Regions from separate parts of the Homo sapiens genome. Here region 1 is linked to region 2. Evidence: promoter capture Hi-C in human tissues and cell types (Jung and others, 2019). All regions are on one chromosome and are shown on one strand. Each heading gives the region's core, a stretch centred on a gene start or on the middle of the fragment in contact. The rest is flanking DNA. Distances are from core to core; before and after follow the strand shown. Region 1 holds the start of PITPNM2 (phosphatidylinositol transfer protein membrane associated 2). Region 2 holds the start of ZCCHC8 (zinc finger CCHC-type containing 8).

Region 1 (3,961 bases), core at 274-2,773, 650 kb after region 2:
AGGGCAGGAGACCAGAGATGAATCAACTCCAGCCCGGGAGCTCACCGTCCAGCAGGGGAGATAAGGCAGATGGAAAAGTAACTATAAAATAAGGCAGACGGTGATAAGAGTTACACAGGAGATACAGATAGCAGGCAGTGGGAGTTCAGAGCAGAGAGGAGTCTGGGGGATGGATGTTAGGGGAGATTCAGATGAAGGGGAGCACTTACTGCCTTCCCTCCAGAAGTGGGGGGTCTATCCTAGCAGCTCTGGTCACTCCCAGGTGGAGGCCGGGGAGAGAGCTGGTTGTGGACAAAGACAGATGTTCCAGTGAGGTCTCCTTTGAAGAATCCCGACTCTGGGTGGGGGAGGCAGGTAGGCCGGGGTGTTTGGAGAGGCACCCAGCCCACACTTCAGTGGGAGGGAGAGGAGTGCAGGATGTCTCTGCAGGAGCAAGTCGGTGGAAAGGGGACAAGCCTGGAGGACTTGCCTTGAAATGACATTTGCACCGCGCGCACTATGTTCACCTGGAGTGGCCGTTTGGGATTTCTTGCGGGGAGGCAGTGCACACTGGGGCGGGGGACACTGAACTTTCCCTCTCCCCAAGGCCCCCCGATCAGCCCTGCCACGGATAAGAAAGGATTCGGGGTGGGAAGAAGACAGAGCCGGCACCCCATTACCACACGAAGGGGGCACTGAGGATGGAGACGGGCCACACCCCAACCCTGGGCCCCCGACAAGCAGAGGCCACGGCCCGGGCCTGGGGACGTTCAGCTGGAGGCGGGAAGCAGAGAAGGCGGGCCGGGGGCTCACCTCCGCTTCCTCCCGATAGCCCCTTCCTCGCCCTGGCACCGGCACTGCCCACGCCTGCCCCCCGACCGCTATGACACTTGTCCCTGGCGGGGGTCCCCCACGCGGTCGCGACCGACGGAAATTCGGAAATCAGCGTTTCGGGCACGGATCCAGGGCCGGCGACTCACTGAGGCCAGGCTCGGGCGGTCTCCCGAGCGGGGCTCCCGTACGCCACACCCTCCTCCCTGCCCGGGTCTCCGCTCCCTCCTCCAGCCCCCGGCGGGCTGGAGGCTCGGCGGGCGGGCGGGCCGGGGCCTCTCTGGGAGCCGCCGCCCAGATCCCCAGGTCCCCGGCCAGCGCCCGGCACTGCGGGACTCACCGCGGGCCTGCGGAGCGGCCGCCCGGACGCACTCACCCCGCTCGGCGCGGCCGCGGGCTCTGTCCTCTTCGGGGCCCCGGCTGGGCCGCCGCCACCTCACGCCGCCTCACGGGGAGCGCCCGCCCCGCGGCCCCGGCCCGGCCGGCTGCGCCCCGCGCGCCCCCGCCGCCTGCTGGCCCCGGGCGAGCGGCAGAGCCCCGGCGGGCATTGCTCCCGAGCGTCGCAGGCGGGCGGCGGCGGCGCACGTGCTGGCGGGCGGCTCTCGCTGAGGCGGCCGCGAGCTGAGAAGGAAGCGCCGGGCGGGCGGCCGGGGCCGGCTGGACAGCTCTACGCCGCGGCGCCGCGGTGCCCCGCGCACCCCAGCGGCCGCTGCTGCCCGCGCGCGCCGGGCCGGGCTCGCATTCCCTCAGTGGCGGCGGCGCCTCCTCAGGCCGCGCGGGGGAGCGGCGGCGGCGGCGGCGGGGGCGCGTCCCTGCGGAGTCTCGGCCCGGCCCCGCCGCCTCCGCCGGAAGAAACCTCTCCGACTCGGGCAGCCCGCCTGGTTCCTCAGACCTGCCGCGGCGACCCCGCTCCTCCCCGGCTCGCCCGTGTCCTCAGGGCCCGGGACTGGACTCGGGGGCGGCGGCGCGGATCCCCGCCCCGGGCTCCTCGCCCACCGTCCGCAGCAGCCGAGCGCACTCGGGGGCGGGAACCGGCCGACTTGCGGCCACTGTGACTCTTAAAACAGCCTCATTTTAAAAAATGAAGTTTCTTAGGAGCGAAATGGTAAACCAGGGAGGGCAGAGCGCAGCGGGCAGCTCACCGAAGCCCAGCCCCGGGCGCGGTGCTCGCCACACGGTGGGTCCGCGCTCTCCCCTCAGGACGCCCGGGCCGCGGCCCAGGGAACGGCAGAGCCGGGAGCGCAGCCGTCCCGGTCCCCACCTCAGGGAGTAGCTGGAAGAGGATCACGAACAGTTTAATCCGGATGATCTGGCACGACAGGGCTCTCCAATGGGAAGAGCCCCCGGTGGGGGAGCGCCTGGTGACATTCCTTAAAAACATGAGGTGTTTGTTAGGTTGAGCCAGGGTGGACTTGTTTGGCAAAATCTGAAGTCATGGAACTAAAGAGAGCACACCTAAAACTTAGTGATGTGTGACCCATCCCTACTTGTCACCTTATAAGGCTGAGGAGACGGCGGTGCTCCCCTGGAGGAGAGAGGACAAGCTAAAATTAAGGCGGCCTAGATGACTCCAGATGAAGCCGGGGAGGCCGAGCCCCTGACAGCTGCTCACCTCCTGGGGTCACGGCAGAACCCAACTGAACGGGCCAGGAAGGCCATCGTTCCCGACTCGCCTCCAGGTGCCCCTGACCATGACCACGCAGAGGAGGACCAAGGCGTACCACCATCACCTAGAACGCTTCAGCTCCTTCCCTCCACCAAGAGGTGCCCTAGGATCCATCCAGAAAGATCTGCGGAGCCCACAGAGTCCCAACGGGAACTGTGCTCCTGGATGGACGCCCCTTAACCCATAACTCAAGGACTTCTCTATGCCTGGGACTTAAAATCACCAACAACCCGCTCCTGCAGCCAGCTAGCAGAAATAAACACACAAAGGCCACACGCCAGTTCACAGCCACAAGTATTTATTGAGTGCCTGTAGTGCAAGAAAGAGAGATGGTCCCTGCTCCCGCGGAGCTTACAGCTTCACGACTCCAGCATCTGGCTAGATTCAGAAACAACTGCAGCAAGCACTTGTCTACCCACCAGCAGCACTGTAAAAAGCACATTTCTCACATTATCGGTCACTGTTACAGTGAAATTGTTAGATGTAAAAATTATCCTTGAAATCTGTAGTCATAGAGATGACATGGTACATAATGTCCAGCAAATGCACATTTATGGCTTGATTCCTCACATATCTGAGGGGTCTATGGAAATAAAGTACAAATCAGGCAGAAAAGACTTAGTAACACAGTTCCTAAGAATACTGGGGTAGTAGTTTATTATCAAACTACCATAGAGCTCTTGGCAGGGCAGGAAATTATTTCCAGCAAAATTTGTGCAATATAGTGGATTTAATCAAACCTGCAACTGTCAACCATACATGGTCCCTCATGACAGGTAAATATAATCTACCTGTCTGAATGGTAAAAGGCTACAGGTGTGCATTTATTTTTTAAAGCTTCTTAAAGACTCATAGCACAAGTGGCACATTGAAATCTAGTGAAAACTTGAGATAATCTAAAAATTAAAGTGACAAAAGTGTCTAATTTTACTACATATGTAGGTGCAGAGTTCAGATTTCAAGTAGCGTCCAGCAAAGCACGTGGCTTTTCTGGGCGAGAAGGGGATAGCTTTTGGTTGGCTATCACAGACTCCACCTACATCTCCTAACACCCACTGGCAGGCACTTCCTGTGCATGGTTCTGCCCACAAGCTGTCACCTTTAGATGAAACATTTGAAGGGGCAATTATTTGGAGGATACTGGCAATAATTTTTAGAAAAACAACCTATATTTATACCAAATAACCCCCAAGTCACCAATTAAGACCAAAGTGCTTTCTGAACTTACACGTGACAGGTTATCAAATTTGTTAAATTTTTGGTGGCTAAAAAACCAAACACACCAGAGGGATGCTTAATTTAAACTCCAAAAAAGCTCATTTTTTTGCAAAGCGTGAAGAGAACATCTTAGACCACCTAACAAATGTCAGTCCAAGGCAGTTTTTAGGTCAACTGCTTCGGACATAATCTACTTTTTTATTTCAGAAAGTATGCTACCTCAAGGCTGGGCGCAGTGGCTCACGCCTGTAATCCCAACACTATGGG
Region 2 (3,920 bases), core at 638-3,137:
CCAAAATTAAAGTACGGTTTTTATCCTTTCGAACATATATTCTAAGACACGATCCTGAAGTTCAACAGACTAACAAACTGAACCAAAACCATTATTGAAGCATCAGTGTTCCTGTCAAACCTTTCAACAACCACTATGTGATAAAGAGAATGCAGTATAACGAGCTGTTAACAACTTTAGAATTTGGAATAAATCTATGGATGTCCACTGTAGAATCCTTTCAACTTTTTTTTTTTTTTTTTGAGACACAGTCTCACCCTGTCGCCCAGGCTGGAGTGCAATGGTGTGATCTTGGCTCACTGCAACCTCCGCCTCCCAGGTTCAAGGGATTCTCCTGCCTCAGCCTCCTGAGTAGCTGGGATTACAAGCACGCGCCACCACGCCCGGCTAATTTTGTATTTTTAGTAGAGACGGGGTTTCACCATGTTGGCCAGGCTGACCTCCTGATCCTCATGATCCACCTGATCCTCATGATCCTCCTGACCTCATGATCCACCCGCCTCGGCCTCCCAAAGTGCTGGGATTACAGGCTTGAGCCACAGCGCCCGGCCTCAACTTTTTGTATTCTGAAAATTTTCCTCACAATGTGGAGGAAGACGACATTCTGAAAAAATAAATCGCGCTTCACAAACCTTAAAAACTGATATACTGACTGGGCGCCGTGGCGGGCGCCTGTAATCCCAGCTATTCGGGAGGCTGAGGCAGGAGAATCGCTTGAACCCGGGAGGCGGAGGTTGCAGTGAGCCGAGATCGCGCCACTGCACTCCAGCCTGGGCAACAGACTGAGACTCCATTCCCCGACCCCGTCCCCCTAAAAAAGCTAACATATCAGCCACTTTCAGTTCTCTACAAATTTTAAAAGGAAAACTACCCGAACCAAAGTTATCTATCTACCTATAAAACTCTACGAACGTAAAAAAAAACATACTAGCAAATCAAGAAAAATCTGCAATCTTGTAACTCAAGTCTAACAGAAACTTCTTTGGCGCGTTTTCCTCAAGGCGTTGCAAAGCATCTTCAGCACAGAAGCGAGCTCCGAGTGGAAGAACTCTAAAATTAATCCCCAATTTTAATCAAGCAATTAACCAATTATCTCAGCACACCCGGATTCCTTGAGGCCCCCAACTCTGCATTCTGGGACCACTAGCGTTTGCCCCGGTATAAAAACCGATCCCGCGTCTAAGCAGCCGGTATTTCATCACCTACAACTGTAACATGACGGCACAATTTGAGCGTGGCTGCGAAATATGAAACCTCACCACGACCTCAAACAGAGGGGGGCAATTAAGGGCTTGTGTACAATCTGTCAGGTGAGCAGCCTAAAATAACCCTAAACACGGCACCCGGGTGGGAGGCAGGAGTGGGTCTGGTCAGGAGACGGCCTCCCTGAGGGGAAGAGGTCTGCGCCGAGGCAGCCTGCGCGCCCCGAACCCTAGACTCTCGGTCCGCCGGCGGGTGACAGAAAGCACTTGGAATTCTGGCCCTCCTGGAACTTCCGCCCGCGCCCTCGCCCTCGCCCGGCGCTGCCCCGGCCCCACGCCTGGCGCTGCCCCGGCCCCACACCCGGGTGACAGGGCCCAGCGAGAGGAAAGGATATTCTCGGCGCGGAGCTGCTCGATGGTCTCCTCGCACTGCCGAAGCCGCTCCCGTAGCTCCGCGTCGCCGACCCCATTTTCGTCCTCCTCGTCGCCGTCGTCGTCCTTGAAGCGAGTGTGAACGGGCTTCGGAATCGACTCCTCTGGGTGGTCGAACGGCTCGAAGAGCTCTAGATCGCCAAAATACACCTCTGCGGCCATTTTGGGCTGTGGAAAAGATTCGAGAAGAGGCGGAGCCGGCCACCAGGGCTTGGGGAAGAAGGTTGGAAGGCGGCACCACTCTCTAGAGCTCTGGCCGCACGGAGCCACCCGCTAGGGTTTTCTCCAGACGCAGGCCGCGAAAGCTGCACACGGGGCGGGGCCAGTCGCTAGAGACTACAACTCCCGGAATGCAGCGGGGCCTATCGGGCTTGCGATTGCCCGGAGGACGGCATGCTGGGACGTGTGGTTTCTAAGCGACTGGTACTCATTGTCTGCATTGCATCCTGGGATTGGTGCTTTTTGAAATGTGAAGAAAGCTGGAGTAGGTCAGAATGCGCTAAAGCAATCTGGGGGCAGGGCGGGGTGGCTCACACCTGTAATACCAACTACTCGGGAGGCAGAGGTGGGAGGATCACGTGAGCCCAGGAGTTGGAGACCACCCTGGGCAACAGAGCGAGACCCAGACACTACAAAAAAATATAAAAATTAGCTGGGCGATTGTAGTCCCAAGTACTCGGCAAGCTGAGGCGGGAGGGTTTGAGCCCAAGAGGTCGAGGCTGCATTGAGCCCAGATGGCGCCACTGCACACCAGCCTGGGAGACAAAGCAAGACCCTGTCTCAAAAAGAAAAAGAAAAACAAAAACCAGTATGGGATGTTCCTGTTAGGCAACTAAGGGTGAAAAATCAGAGCACGACGCATAGCTTCTCACAGATTCTGGTGTGCGTGCCACACCAGAGAATAAGGAACTCCATAGCCTGAAAGGGAACTGAATAAAAATAAACATAAAAGAGAATAAGAAACTCCAGCTTTGCTACAGAGATGACTGTTGTAGATTAGTTTATTGAGCTTGCTTCGTTTTTAATGTAAGATTAGCTAGACTCAACTATTTGTCTGTTGAGGCTTTCTGTCATTCAATCACATTATTTACTTACACCTTCGATGGGCCAGGCACTTGTCTAGGACCTGAGTATGGTTACAAGAGTAACCACAATAGAGTAATTCCTCCTCTCACGAAGGCTGTAGTCCACAAAAAGCAACAAAAACCCCATAATTATAAATGTTCCTGTTCTTGGGTCGAGATGGTTGTTGATGGATATTGATCACACAAAGAAATGTGGGCCGGGGGCGGTGGCTCACATCTGCAACCCCAGCACTTTGGGAGGCCGAGGCAGGTGGATCACGAGGTCAGAAATTCAAGACGAGCATGACCAACATGGAGAAACCCTGTCTCTACTAAAAATACAAAAATTAGCCAGGCGTAGTGGCACACGCCTGTAATCCCAGCTACTCAGGAGGTTGAGGAAGGAGAATCGCTTGAACCCGGGAGGCAGAGGTTGCAGTGAGCCGAAATCGTGCCACTGCACTCCAGCTTGGGCGACAGAGCAAGACTCTGTCTCAAAAAAAAAAAAAAAAAAAAAAAGGTGAAAAACACAGGAAGTTATGAATATTTAACAAACACCCTAGTCTGTGGGAGTCAGTAAAGTGAGGAAGTGAGACTTTAAGGATCGGCAAAGTTGGGGGTGGGAGGATGGAAGAGTGTCTTAGGTGTAAGGACCACCATGTTGAGTGAAAAGGCAGAGTGGAGCAAGATGAGGTTGGAACACTGCTAGGTCAGTGCTCAAAGGCCCTTAAGGAAGCCTCTTTCCGTTTACAACATTGGGAAGTCACTTACACATTTTAACATTTTTTTTTTCTTTTTGTGGACAACAGGATCTCCCTATATTGCCCAGGTAGGTCTTGAACTTCTGAGCTAAAGCTATCCTCCTGCCTCTGCCTCCCTAAATACTGGGATTACAGGAATGACCCACTGTGCCTGGCCATTTAAATTTTTTTTTTTTGAAATTTTATTTTTTGAGACAGAGTCTCACTGTGTCACCCAGGCTGGAGTGCAGTGGCATGATCTCGGCTCACTGCAACCTCCGCCTCCCAGGTTTACTTTCACTGAAAAATCTGCATGAGGCCTGGCGTGGTGGCTCACGCCTGTAATCCCAGCACTTTGGGAGGCCCAGGCGGGTGGATCATGAGGTCAGGAGTTCAAGACCAGCCTGGCCAACATGGTGTAACCCGGGAGTTCAAGACCAGCCTAGCTGACATAGTGAAACCCCGTCTCTACGAAAAATACA

What was found. Contacts are between HindIII fragments. The study calls those that stand out against the background at their distance.
Region 1: the fragment with the promoter of PITPNM2 here is called in contact with the fragment with the promoter of ZCCHC8 in region 2 in 1 of the 25 tissues and cell types used here (IMR-90 fibroblasts).

Annotation. Positions count from the first base shown.
Region 1 is chr12:123,149,567-123,153,527 of GRCh38, forward strand. It overlaps PITPNM2 (phosphatidylinositol transfer protein membrane associated 2), which reads right to left and starts at 1,524. Exons shown (of 26, transcript NM_020845.3): 1 at 1,187-1,524. It also overlaps a transcript of MPHOSPH9 not described here. RefSeq lists silencers at 1,078-1,167, 1,268-1,407, 1,428-1,687, 1,708-1,907. The HindIII fragment of the contact is 7,714 bases long and covers 1-3,961 here.
Region 2 is chr12:122,499,045-122,502,964 of GRCh38, forward strand. ZCCHC8 (zinc finger CCHC-type containing 8) reads right to left here and starts at 1,888. Exons shown (of 14, transcript NM_017612.5): 1 at 1,598-1,888. The coding sequence starts at 1,796. RefSeq lists enhancers at 856-1,547, 1,548-2,241, 1,737-1,816, 2,017-2,076, 2,127-2,306 and 1 more and a silencer at 1,447-1,596. The HindIII fragment of the contact is 12,081 bases long and covers 1-3,920 here.